3 separate regions of the Homo sapiens genome follow, and all the other regions are linked to region 1. Evidence: promoter capture Hi-C in human tissues and cell types (Jung and others, 2019). All regions are on one chromosome and are shown on one strand. Each heading gives the region's core, a stretch centred on a gene start or on the middle of the fragment in contact. The rest is flanking DNA. Distances are from core to core; before and after follow the strand shown. Region 1 holds the start of AQP8 (aquaporin 8). Region 2 has its middle 44 kb from the start of RBBP6. Region 3 overlaps HS3ST4 (heparan sulfate-glucosamine 3-sulfotransferase 4).

Region 1 (4,510 bases), core at 632-3,131:
GGCTCACTGCAACCTCTCCCTCCCAGTTCAAGCAATTCTCCTGCCTCAGCCTCCGAAGTAGCTGGGACCACAGGTGCCTGCCCCCACGCCCAGCTAATTTTTGTATCTTTAGTAGAGACAGGGTTTCACCCTGTTGGCCAGGCTGCTCTCCAACTCCTGACCTCAGGTGATCCACCCGCCTCAGCCTCCCAAAGTGCTGGGATTACAGGCGTGAGCCACTGCACCCGGCCTAAAGAGATGTTAAAGCTCTTTTCCATTCTGGTTTTCTCAGAAATAGTATTTCTGTTTCCTCATTCAGATCTATTTTTTGAGTGAGATTTAATACAGACCAACCATGTCCCAGATCACCCTGCCAGGCACCCCACTCAAGATCTTCGTCGTGATGGCTGGCTCTCCTGGGAACCAGCAGCCATGTCCACAGACCTCCCCATTGAGCCTCTACCCAGACGAGAGCTAAGCCAGAGAAGCCTGTCCCTTTCCCTGCCCCTCCTTCTTGATCACCTCTTGACAAGCCAGGACCACTGCAGATCTCTGCATACCCAGGTGGGAAAACCTGGCTCAGGTCTTCTATGCATTTCTGCTTTCCCTAAAACCCCCTTCTAGTGGTAACAATAACACAGCAACCAATGCCTGTTGTATGTTTGGTGTGTGCCAGGCGCTCTACTTCATTTAATTCTCATGACTTCCGCATGAGGCACTTGGATTTGAGCGCTGGAGCCAGACAGCTTGTTCTTGACTCCCGCCTCTGCCACTTTCTGGCCCTCTAAGCTTGGACAGATTACATGGCCTTTCACTTTTGCAGCTGTACAATGGGGCTAATAACAGGACCTACCCCACAAGGCTTTTGTGAGGATTAAATAACTAATATCTATAAAGTAATTAGACTAGTGCCTGGTACATGGTTAGCAATATAGATATGTTGGCTTGAAAAAAAAAACATTTAAAAGCTACTATTCCCATTTTATAGGCGGGGAACTTTGGGTTTAGAGAGTAACTTGCCAGCCAGGCATGGTGTCTCATGCCTGTAATCCCAAAACTTTGGGAAGCCAAGGCAGGAGGATCGCTTGAGACCAGGAGTTCAAGACTAGCCTGGGCAACATAGTGAGACCCCATCTCTACAACAAAATTTAAAAATTAGTTGGGTGCTGCGGCGCATGCCTGTGATCCAGCTACTCAAAAAGAGAATGACTTGCTCAAAGTCACAAGCTCACAGGCTGCGGGGTCTGGAGTTGACCCCAGTCTGACTCCCAACCCCATAGTTATCCAGAGCGCTCCTTGAAATCCCGAATACGTATGCGCCCAGGGGTCCTTGACAACGCCTTTGCTTTCCACACCCAGTGCCCCAAGTCAGCATCAGGCTGAATCCTCAGAGCTGGTCTCACCTGATATTCCCCAGCGTGGCAATCACGAGCCCCAAAGCCAGCCCGTGGGCCAGGGCCGGCTGCAGCAGCCCAGTGTCCGTCCCATTCTCAATGACCGACAGGCACCCGATGAAGATGAAGAGAGCAGAGCCCAGCAGTTCGACCAGACATGGCTGCACAAACCGTTCGTACCAGGACACTCGCCACCTGCCACCCACGCTCGGCTCCCTGGCCTTGTCATTGCCAAATTCAGGCTCACACATGGCTATCTGCCGTAGGGAAAAAGGGACAGAGGACACGGGTGGGAGGCAAGTCCAGATATAGAAGGCCCCGACCCCCAACCTTGAATTAATTCACAGCCCCCCTTGCTCTGCCAGCCTGGAGAGGAAGATGCCGACAGAGGGCTCACCTCTCCAGACATCAGGATCAGATGGCACAAACATCGGACTCTTGCCTGAGCTGCTGGGAAACCTGCACCTGCTGTGCAAGATACTCTTATCTCCTAGGGACAGGACCTGCTGATCACACTATGGGCTCTGCCCCTTTTAAAGGGCTGCAGAGGCTCAATGCTGGTGCAGAGAAAGCAATAAACCTCAGGTAGGAGGCGGCTCTGAGGCCCAGAAGAGGAAATTTTTTTAAATCTCAACAGGGCAGGGTGAGGGAGTCAGGGATTGCTGAACTTTCCGCCAGTGAGGGAAAAACACGCCAGCTTGGCTGTGTCATCTGGGAGCACACTCCAGGCTGTAGAAGGTGGGAGATGGGTCCAGCACCCCAGCTCCCCACGGTCCAAAGCAGAACAGCACATGTTAGTGGGCCCCACTGGGTTGGAACCTCACATGTTAAGAAACAGCAAACAGCCAGGTGCAGTGGCTCACGCCTGTAATCCCAGCACTTTGGGAGGCCGAGGCAGGTGGATCACGAGGTCAGGAGATTGAGACCATCCTGGCTAACACGGTGAAACCCCGTCTCTACTAAAAATACAAAACTCAGCCGGGCGTGGTGGTGCACGCCTGTAATCCCAGCTACTTGGGGGGCTAAGGCAGGAAAATCATTTGAACCTGGGAGACGAAGATTGCGCAGAGCCAAGATTGTGCAACTGCACTCCAGCCTGGGCAACAGAGCAAGGCTCTGAAAAAAAAAAAAAAGGAAAGAGAAAGAAGAAAGAAAGACAGAGAAAGAAAGAAAGGAAAGAAAAGAAAGAAAGAAAGAAAGAAAGAAAGAAAGAAAGAAAGAAAGAAAGAAAGAAAGAAAAAGAAAGAAAGAAAGAAAGAAAGAAAGAAAGAAAGAAAGAAAGAAAGAAAGAAAAAGAAAGAAAAAGAAAGAAAGAAAAGAAGGAAGGAAAGAAAGAAAGAAAGAAAGAAAGAAAGAAAGAAAGAAAGAAAGAAAGAAAAAAGAAAAAGAAAGAAAAGAAGGAAGGAAGGAGAAAGAAAGAGAGGGCGTGTTGGTGTTTGCCTGTAATCCCAGCTACTCAGGAGGATGAGGCATGAGAATCACTTGAACCCAGGACCCAGAGGTTGCAGTGAGCCAAGATCGCGCCACTGCACTTCAGCCTCAGAGTGAGACCCTGTCTAAAAAAAAAAAAAAAAAAAAGAAAGAAAGAAAGAAAAAAGAAAAGAAAGAAACAGCAATCCCATTTTCAATTATTTTTCCAATGAGTCCCACAGCTTCAAACACCTGCAGTCACCGTGACAGCCTGAGCCAGGACTGAGTGTATAGATGACGATCCTTCACAGACAGAGGCAGCAGAGACTGGCAAGAGGTAATGCAATGCAGCGGCAAGACCCATGAACTTTGGAAATAGGCTGCCTGGCGTTCAATCCCAGCTCTGCTGTAAACTAGCTATGTAACCCTTGGGCACATGACTTGGCCTCTCTGGGCCTTTGTTTTCTCATCTGTTAGGTGTGGATGTTAGTGGTTTCACCATGTCATAGGGTCGTTGGGAAGTTTAAATGAGATAATACGGGTAAAGTGCTCAGGACAGTGCTAGACACACAATACCAGTGTCCACTAATTTACAATACATGCTTAGCTGTAACTAATAGCTAATAGTGAGCACTTTCTATGTGCCAGGCACTGGGGCTAAGTGCCTTCTATTATCTCATTTAAACCTCACTGCCACCCTGTGAAGCAGGTACTATTATTACAACCATTTCACAGACGAGGAAGTGGAGTGTCAGGAAGATTGAGTTTCCCAAGATTACACAGCTTATATGATCACAGAACTTGTGGGCTGTCACAAAAGGATAAATACTGTATCTGATTCCACTTGTATGAAGTACCTAGACTAGTCAAATTCATAGAGACAGAAGTAGAATGGTGGTTTCCACGGCCCGAGGGGAAGGGAGAATGAAGAGTTTGTGTTTAGCGGGTACAGATTTCCTGTTTGGGAGGAAAGTTTTGGGATGGATGATACAGTGGCACAACAATGTGAAGTACTTAATGTCACTGAAATGTACACTTAAAAATGGTTCCAAATGCTGGGTGTGCTTGGCTCACACCTGTAATCTCAGCACTTTGGGAGACCAAGGCAGGAGGATCACTTGATTTTAGGAGTTTGACACCAGTCTGGCCACATGGTGAAACCCTGTCTCTACTAAAAATACAAAAATTGGCTGGGTGTGGTGGTGCACGCCTGTAATCCCAGCTACTTGGGAAGCTGAGGCAGGAGAATCGCTTGAACCTGGGGGGCAGAGGTTGTAGTGAGCTGAGATCACACCACTACACTCCAGCCTGGGTGAGAGGATGAGACTCCATCTCAAAAAAAAAAAGGTTAAAATGGCATATTTTATTTTATGTGTATCTTGCCACAATTGAAAAAAAATACTTGTGAGCTAACCCACTACACTCTACTGCCTTTCTAAGAGAGATGGATGGATGGATGGATGGATGGATGGATGGATGGATGGATAAGTGGATGGATGGGTGGATGCATGGATGGATGGGTGGATGGATGGATGGATAGATAGATGGTTGGGTGGGTGGGTGGGTGGATGGATGGATGGATGGATGGATGGATGGATAGATGGGTGGGTGGATGGATGAATGGATGGATGGATGGATGGATGGTTGGAAAGAAGGGAAGAAAGAAAGGAAGGGAGGGAGGAAGGAAGGGAGAAAGGAAGGAGGAAGGAAAGAAAATGAGATGAGTT
Region 2 (4,510 bases), core at 1,274-3,773, 630 kb after region 1:
TCGGGAGGCTGAGGCACAAGAATCGCTTGAACCTGGGAGGTGGAGGTTGCAGTGAGCCGAGATCATGCCATTGTACTCCAGCCTGGGCGACAGAGTGAGATTCCGTCTCAAAAAAAAAAAAAAAATTAGTGGGGCGTGGTGGCACACACTTGTAATCCCAGCTACTCAGGAGGCTGCGGTGGGAGAATCGCTTGAACGCAGGAGGCGAAGGTTGCAGTGAGCCAAGATCATGCCATTGCACTCCAGCCTGGGGGACAAGAGCAAAACTCCGTCTCAAAAAATAAAAAATAATAAAAAAAGAACACTGAAAGCCAGAATGCAGATAGGTCCAAAGGGTTAACACAAAGCAGCACACCTTGGCAGAAGTTAGAGGCTTACTCTCTGGAGAGGTTCAACTAGAGCAGTGGTTCTCAACCTTGGCTGCACATTGGAGTCACCTGGAGAGATTTTAAAAGACTGATGTTCAGACCACCCCACCAGATGTATTAAAGTAAAAACTCTGGGTAAGGTATACAGCCTTCAGTATGTCTTAAAGCTCTCTAAGTAGTCCAAAATATGCAGCCCTTTTGGGTACCAAAGAATAGAAGGACTCTGGACTTGAGGACATCAAGTGGATAGGGGTGCTGTACTGGAAAGAGCAGGATGGAGTCTGTCTATATATACTGAATGGAAGCTTACTTGGCTCCAAAAAATTCCTGGTAGCTGGATTTGTAATTATACTATAGTTTTTCATCCCCATTCTAAAGAGTGGAGGATTCCCCTCTGGAAGAAACTAACCACAAGAAAAAATGCCGGGAAGATCCTCAGTGAAGTGGTACACTCAGATCACTCTATAATAGAACTCTCTTGTCATATCTCACAAATTTCTAACTTGAAGAGCAGAAGAAAACCTCAACAAAATGAATATCTTTACAAGTCCTATTATAGCCATGAAAAAGAATAGAATGTTATGAAAAGGGGAACAATCAGGAAATAAAAAAATAGAACCCTGAGAAATTGTAAATATGGGCCAGACGTGGTGGCTTACACCTGTAATCCCAGCATTTTGGGAGGCTGAGGCGAGTGGATCACCTGAGGTCAGGAGCTCGAGACCAGCCTGGCCAACATGGTGAAACCCTGCCTTTACTAAAAAATACAAAAATTAGCTTGGTGCAGTGGCAGGCGCCTGTAATCCCAGCTACTCGGGAGTCTGAGGCAGGAGAATCGCTTGAACCCAGGAGGCAGAGGTTGCAGTGAACCAAGATTGTACCATTGCACTCCAGCCTTGGAGACAGAGTAAAATTCCATCTCAAAAAAAAAAAAAAAAGAAAGAAAGAAAAGAAAGAAAGAAAAGAAAAAGAAAAAAAGAAATTGTAAATATGCCAGCAGAAGTAAAGAACTGAAGTGTTGAGGAAACGTCACAACAAAAAATATGAGTGGAGGGTGGGCGCACTGGTTCACGCCTGTAATCCCAGCACTTTGGAAGGCTGAAGCAGGTGGATCACTTGAGCCCACGAGTTTGAGACCAGCCTGGGCAACATGGAGAGACCCTACTTCTACAAAAAATAAAAAATTAGCCAGGTGTGGTGCGTGTGCCTGTGGTCCCAGTTATTCAGGAGGCTGAGGCGGGAAGGTCGCTTGAGCCCAGGAGGTCAAGGCTGCAGTGAGCTATGACTGCACTCCAACCTGGTCAAACAAAACAAAACAAAACACAAGAATGGAAAATAGTAGAGGATCAGTCCAGAAAATCTAATATCAAAATAATGAGTCCCAAAAAAAGAAAGCAGAAAAAAATGGAATGGAGAGTATTATCCCACAAGTAATAAAATAATGTTTCCAAGAAAATCATAAAAGACATAATTTCATGAAAGACATGAAAGAAAGGGCTCATAGAGCACTTGGCAAAGTATATTTTAAAAGGGTCGCAACGTCATCATCACAACATTGGATTTTCTAAATGTACCTAGGTTAAAAGGAAGTTACCAAAGAATCCTGGGAGGGGAAAATATTGCAAAAATTGCATATAAATGGATTAGGAGTCAGAATGGCTTGAACGCCTGGTTAGCAATGCCAGAAGCAGGATTATGATAGAGAAATGCCTCCAGGTATGAATGCAAATGATTTCCAGTGCAGAATTCTATGCCCAACCAAACCATAAATCAAGTGTCGGGGTAGAGTAAGAACATTTGTGACATTTTAGGCTCTGAAAAATTTTACCTCCCAGGTACCCTTCCGCAGTAACTTACTAGAGCACATGTCCTCCACCTCAAATGAGGAAGCAAACCTAGGAAGAGAAAGACACAGGATGGAAGGCAAAGATCTAATGCAGAAGAGAGGGCGAGGGGAAGACCCAGGAGCAGGCAGTTTTGGGGTACGTCTAGAGGGCAACCAATCTTTGTTGTTGTTGCCGAGACAAAGTCTCACTCTGTTGCCAGGCTGGAGTGCAGTGGCACGATCTCGGCTCACCGCAACACCTGCCTCCCGGGTTCAAGCGATTCTCCTGCCTCAGCCTCCCAAGTAGCTGGGACTACAGGCGTGCGCCACCACCCCCAGCGAATTTTTGTATTTTTAGTAAAGACAGGCTTTTACCATGTTGGCCAGGATAGTCTCAATCTGACCTCAACTGATCGGCCCATGTTGGCCTCTCAAAGTGCTGGGGTTATAGGCATGAGCCACTGTGCCCAGCCATTTTTTTTTTTTTCGAGATGGATTCTCTCATTCTTGTCACCCAGGCTGGAGTGCAGTGGTGTGATCTCTGCTCACTGCAACCTCCACCTCGCAGGTTCAAGCAATTCTCCAGCCTCAGCCTCCTGAGTAGCTGGGATTACAAGGTGCGTGCCACCACGTCTGGCTAATTTTTGTATTATTGGTAGAGACAGGGTTCCACCATGCTGGCCAGGCTGGTCTCAAACTCCTGACCTCAATTGATCCTCCCACCTCGGCCTCCCAAAGTGCTGGGATTATAGGCATGAGCCACTGGGCCTGGCCCCAATTTTTATTAGATAGGTAGAAAGAAGGTTCTGGAGGGGAATATCCCAAGAAAAAGGGTAAAACTGATGAACACTTATTTGAATATCCTGGGAGGAGGTTTGTTTCCAGTGAGCCATAGAAAATCAAACTTTTGAAACGGGAGTTGATATTAATTCCAGGAAAAACAACATTTTACATGAAAGCAATCCTACTATACCAAGTGACTCAATGTGGAACTGTTTATATAGATATATAATAATGTATACCACCATTTTTATTTAATCCAAATGGTAAAACTTTTATTGAGAGGGTGGGAGAGGGTAGAGGTGTATGTGTGTGGGTGTTGCTAAAGTCAATTGTGGCTCATACTTGAGACTGAAAAATCAAGTAATAGGAGGAGTGTGTTATTTACATATAACATTCTTCTTTTCTTTTTTAAAGAAAGAACTAGCAGAGTTGAAATGGCCTGTAAAGAATTAGTCAGCATATAATTAATTAGAGTAGGAGAATGAAGTTTTTGTTGTAAGTCTTTTTTTTTTTTTTTTTTTTTGAGATGGAGTTTCGCTCTTGTTGCTCAGGCTGGAGTGCAATGGTGTGATCTTGGCTCACTGCAACCTCCGCCTCCCGGGTTCAAGTGATTCTCCTGCCTCAGCCTCCTGAGTAGCTGGGATTACAGGCGTGCACCACCATGCTCGGCTAATTTTTTGTATTTTTAGTAGAGACGGGGTTTCACCATGGCCAGGCTGGTCTTGAACTTCTGACCTCAGATGATCTGCCCACCGCGACTTCCAGAGTGCTGGGATTACAGGCGTGAGCCATCACACCCGGCCTGTTGTAAGTCCTGAAGAACTTTATGACTTTTTAAACAATGTACAACTTTGTGAGAAAAATTAAATTCTTAAAGCCTGCAAAATTGAGAATGTATTATGATCTGGGCAAATTTAATGAAAATGCTAACTACCACAGACATATCCTGGTAGAAAAGTCAATATCGGTGGGGGGAGGGGGAAGATGGAGAATCACACTGGTTTTGGACTTAAAGGTAACTCTAAATGCCTGAAGGCACCAGAATTTTGTTTTGTTGGCATTTCTGTTTTATTGTTAGTGGCTTTTTTTTTTTTTTTGACAGGGTCGCACTATGTCACCCAAGCTGGAGTGCAGTGGCTCACCGCAATCTCCAGCTCCGGGGTTGGAGTGATTCTCAGCCTCCCTAGTAGCTGAGATTACAGGTGTGCACCACCATGCCCATCTAATTTTTTTTTTTTTTTTTTTTTTGTATTTTTAGTAGAGATGGGGTTTCACCATGTTGGCCAGGCTCGTCTTGAACTCCTGGCCTCAAGTGATCCACCCGCCTCAGCCTCTCAAAGTGCTAGGATTACAGGCATGAGCCACCGCACCCGGCTGCTAGTGGCATTTAAAATTTTCAGATGTTTATTTGTGTAATAATTGAGATTGTAATTTTAAAAAATTGCAGAGGGGGAAACAGTTGCTAGTTTAAAGAACAAGCAGCTTCTTCTGCCCTCTAATGGCATAATTCATCCTTGGTTCAGAAAAATAATGG
Region 3 (4,510 bases), core at 889-3,388, 560 kb before region 1:
GATGCATAATCTTGCAGAAGAAAAATAACAAAGCCACCAGATGCCATGCTATGAGCTGGGGCATTATGAAGCAAAGGTGTCTGCATCCCTGGAAATTCAGTGCTGCTGGGGACAGGGACAGTGGGTGAAGAGTGCATTGTGGAATGCAAGCAGACTGCTGCCAGTCAATTGGCCCATCAAGATTCTGAAGGTGAAACTACACAACTAATAGATCATGTAGGTACTGCATGCAGAAGAGGTGGTCCAATGTAATCAAAATGAATACTTACACAGTGCCTATAGTATGCCACGCACACTTGGCACTTCCTACACATTGCATTATTTCATCCACACGTTGGGGTAGAAGCTATTATTATCCTCACTTTTTGCAGAAGGAAAGTGAAGTATAGACATATTAATAAGTAACTTGTCCAAGGTCACACAGTTCATAAGCAACAGAGTCTGAATTAAAGCTCAGGCAGTCTGGCCTTAGGGTTCTTGGTCTAAACCACCATTGCTGTAGCAAGGGAAGAGACTGCTTCTTGAAGGCAGAAGACTTGAGTTTGAATTTTAGTTGCTCCAGCCCTTGAGCTGTAAGTCTTGGGATAGTTGCTTAATCTTCTGAACCTTGGTTTTACCAACTATAAAATGAAAAGAATAGTAATGTTTATCTCAGAAGGTCTTGAACCAACTAAGGAAGTGCCTGGCACATAGGCAGCTGGTCAATGTTTGCTAAATCCCAAACTGCGAAACCATCCAAAGCACTCTCACTGTGGCTGTTTACCCTGATTTAATAGCTCACGCTTACCAAATATTAAATACTTTCCACAAAGTACTTCATTTAGCTCATTCATCCTGTTCCCCAATCACACTATCTCTTACTTATTTACCTGCATGGGCAGGGACTAGTTCTTAGCAACAAAACTTTCAGAAACTGGGGTATTTCTGGAGGGACTGCTGTCTTCCTAGGAGCTCCCACAAGAAAGTGCCAGAAAACAGACATTTGGAATGACAATGATACAACCAATTGCAACAAGTCTCTAGTGATGTTGCTTTGGTCACCGAGATAGTCAGATTCATCAAGGGTTTAGGGGGGCTGGTTTAAAGGGACAGGTCACTCTATCTTGAAGTCAGCACAAAATCTGTTTTGCACAGGGGCATACAGAGTAGTATAATCGACACGGGAGACTCAGAAGAGAGGAGGATGGCAGGGGGTGAAGAATGAAAAATTACCTATTGGGTACAATGTACAATATTCTGTGACAAGTACATGGAAAGCCCAGAGTCCACCTCTATACAATTCATCCATGTCACCAAAAACCACTTTTATCCCTAAAGCTACTGAATTTTTTTAACCTGTTTTCCTGCATCGCCAGCATTTCAAGATGTTTTCAGTTTGTCTACTTGAAAGTGTCTCCAAATTGATAAATAACTTCCTATTTTCAAATTCAGCAACACTCATCAAACATTTATTAAGTGCCACACACCATGCTAGGGATGAGAGTTAAAGGGGTTTATGAGGTACAACCCCTGTCTTCAAGGAGCTTTTCATCTATTAGGGAGACAAATTCACAACCAAGGCAAATTCAAGTTTTAAGTGTTCTGTAGTATTAGGAGCCAAAACCAATGGGACTGGACAGGAAGGAGCATCTCAGTCTTCCAAGCCACGGTAGACCCCACTCCCAGGACATAAAATATCGAAGGCCACCAAAGTTCAGCAGTAAAAATATGGAGGTGCTGGAGCTGAGGAACACAGAAGTCAGCCTGAACTGAACGGAGACATTTGAGAATGCTGTGCAGAGATCCTGTCTGGGAACAAAACTGGGGAAGTGTGGGTAGATAAGGAACCAGACAGCAGCAGTTTTGTGTGACATTTAGTTGCTGTAAGCCACACACAAGTCCTTGAGGAATGTATATAAGTACGGTATGTGGCATGTATCGCTATGTATGGTTGTCTGATCCAATTTCTTCTTTTTCCTAATAGAGAATCTGAATACTTACTCCTTCCCATCCCAGAATTTTCTTAAGAATCCCTTCGATACCTTGTAGTTTCAAAGGTACCTACCTAGCAGAGCTGAACGTGGCATCTTCAACCTTGGTCTGTCCAGCACCTACCCTGCCATGGCCGTTTCTCCATCTCTCGACGTCATAGCCACCTTTGATTCCCAGGCTTGCATTAGACTTGTAACATTACAGGTGTGAAAATGAAATGTCAAACGTTTCTCACCCTCTCTCTCTAAGAGAATGGTGAGACAGTTAGAAGCGCTGAATTCCTCAGACTTAAATGTCTCTCACTTTTCAAAGACTCTTTCTAGAATCCTATAGACATGGGGGCCTTTCTGAGCTCCACTGACTTTTACAGTGTGTATTTCCATGTTTCAGTTGAAAGGCTGAGGTTCTGAATAAAAGCCCATAAGAAGATAAAGTAACTAATATTTGTTCAATCCCTAAACACACTGAAACACACTGAACATTTTCACTTGGATCAACCCATTAAAACTCTTGGAGATAAGTATGCTGACCTAAGGCCAGTATCACGGATGACAAAAGAGAGGATCAGAGAGGCTCTGTAACTTACCCGGGATCACACAGCATAAACACAGAATCCTAACCAAATATAGTTGACTCCAAAACATAACCATAGCTCTACTGTAATTCTCTAGTAAGATGTCAGCTAAATGGGCTATCAATGATGCATTCAGAGAAACACTATGCATGACAACAAACAGAGAAGACTTTCTTCAAGGCTCAGTTTAAGACTGTGGTTTAGGCAACTAAGATAATGTTGATTGTGATAAGAGAAGCCCAAATACCATCTTTCAGTACTTGTCATGACAAGAATACTCTACAATAAGGGTCCACGGGCTACAGCTTGTGTTCCAAATCTAGCCTGCTGCCTTGTTTTGTACATAAAGTTTTATTTCATGCTACAAGGGCAGAGTTGAGTAGGTGTGACAGAGACCATATGGCTCATGAAGCCTAAAATTCTTATCTGTCCCTTTACAGAAAAAGTTTGCCAACGCCAGACTAGAAACGTTATCCTATCTTCCACTAAATGCTGTTTGGAACCAGAAGATAAAAAGAGGTAAAAGAGAGGGAACAGAAAGATAAGAAGCCATCCATAAAAATGCATTGAGCTCCTACAGTATGTACTCAATGTTCTATTCTCCTCCAGCCAAGGCACTAGGAACACAGACTCATTCACTCAACAAATATTTATTAAGCCCTTGAGCACCTACTCTGTTCCAGTCATTGGACTAGGTATTGAGGAGACTGCAATAAACATAAACTGCAAGTGCTAGTGAGATAGTTCCCTTATATTCTCTGCTTCAAAGAATTGACAACTACATGGGGCACACAAGTTATGACACCAAAGTCTAAGGAGAGCAATGAGAAGTCTTCAGAGAAAAAAGCAACCCGTTCTTTCCACAGAAGATAAGGAAGGCTTCCCATAGTAACATCTGAACTAGGTCTTGAAGTGTGGTTTGCCAAGGGGAAAGGAGGAGGAAAGGTACACCAAGCAGAGAGGAGAGTCTGTGCAAAGGCCCTGGGGTAGGAAATCACTTAGCATGTGAAACCCACAACAGGGAGCTGTCCTGTGGCTGGGGCAGACAGAGCACTGGATGGGGAACAGCAGAAAATGAACTTGCAACATGGTGGCCAGATGGTAGTTTCTAAGAACAGGCTCCAGAGGTTTGGCCCTACTCTACCAAGTCCTGGTTCAAATCCTGGCTGTTGAAACTCACACAGGAACAGAAAAACTGAACACCACATGTTCTCACTCATAAGTAGGAGTTGAACAATGAGAACACATGGACACAGGGAGGGGAACATCACATACTGGAGCCTGTTGGGGTGTGGGGGGCAAGGGAAGGGAGAGCATTAGGACAAATAGCTAATGCATGTGGGCTTAAAACCTGGATGACAGGTTGATAGGTGCAGCAAACCACCATGGCACGTGTATACCTACGTAACAAACCTGCATGTTCTGCACATGTATCTCAGAACTTAAAAAAAAAAATCCTGGCTGTTGGACCATAATAAGTGACTTCTGTAGCCACGTCCCAGGATCATCCTGAGGACCCAAAGTGACAATGTGTATAAAACACTTAGCGCAGTTCCCAACACGTCATAAGCACTGAATAGACATTCACCGTTATGATTAATAGTATGATATGGAAGCCAATCAGAAATGTCATCCAAACTAATTGCTTTTCATCAGTTGCAACATTCAGCTTCCATCGAAGCTTTAACTGGTTGAGAGAAATGTATCAGGAAGCAAGCAGCCCAAACGAAATGCATCAATATATGTACAAAAAGCAGGGCAGCCATTCAGGCCGTACAGCTCCAGATGCAAAGTTACCCCAGGTAGCTCACTCACAGGACTGGCAGGCCCTGTTCCACTCCACACACCTGGTCTGCAAAATGTCCCAACTGCACCCCTCAGCCATTGTAGAGCGTGTTAGGCTTAAAAGAGTGAGCTGAGCTCAAGTTCAGGCACCATCCCTTCCTCAATGTGTGGCCTGAGAGA

What was found. The method cuts DNA at HindIII sites, captures the fragments that hold promoters and counts their contacts. A contact is called where the count stands out against the background at its distance.
Region 2: a fragment that was not itself captured here is called in contact with the fragment with the promoter of AQP8 in region 1 in 1 of the 25 tissues and cell types used here (lymphoblastoid cells).
Region 3: a fragment that was not itself captured here is called in contact with the fragment with the promoter of AQP8 in region 1 in 1 of the 25 tissues and cell types used here (dorsolateral prefrontal cortex).

What each region holds. Positions count from the first base shown.
Region 1 is chr16:25,214,318-25,218,827 of GRCh38, reverse strand. AQP8 (aquaporin 8) reads right to left here and starts at 1,881. Exons shown (of 6, transcript NM_001169.3): 1 at 1,771-1,881; 2 at 1,383-1,630. The coding sequence starts at 1,782. The HindIII fragment of the contact is 27,087 bases long and covers 1-4,510 here.
Region 2 is chr16:24,580,815-24,585,324 of GRCh38, reverse strand. No RefSeq gene overlaps it. Among named protein-coding and RNA genes, the nearest start is that of RBBP6, 44 kb to the right of the region's middle. The HindIII fragment of the contact is 5,451 bases long and covers 1-4,510 here.
Region 3 is chr16:25,770,475-25,774,984 of GRCh38, reverse strand. All of the region lies in intron 1 of HS3ST4 (heparan sulfate-glucosamine 3-sulfotransferase 4), which reads right to left. Among named protein-coding and RNA genes, the nearest start is that of HS3ST4, 81 kb to the right of the region's middle. The HindIII fragment of the contact is 6,913 bases long and covers 1-4,510 here.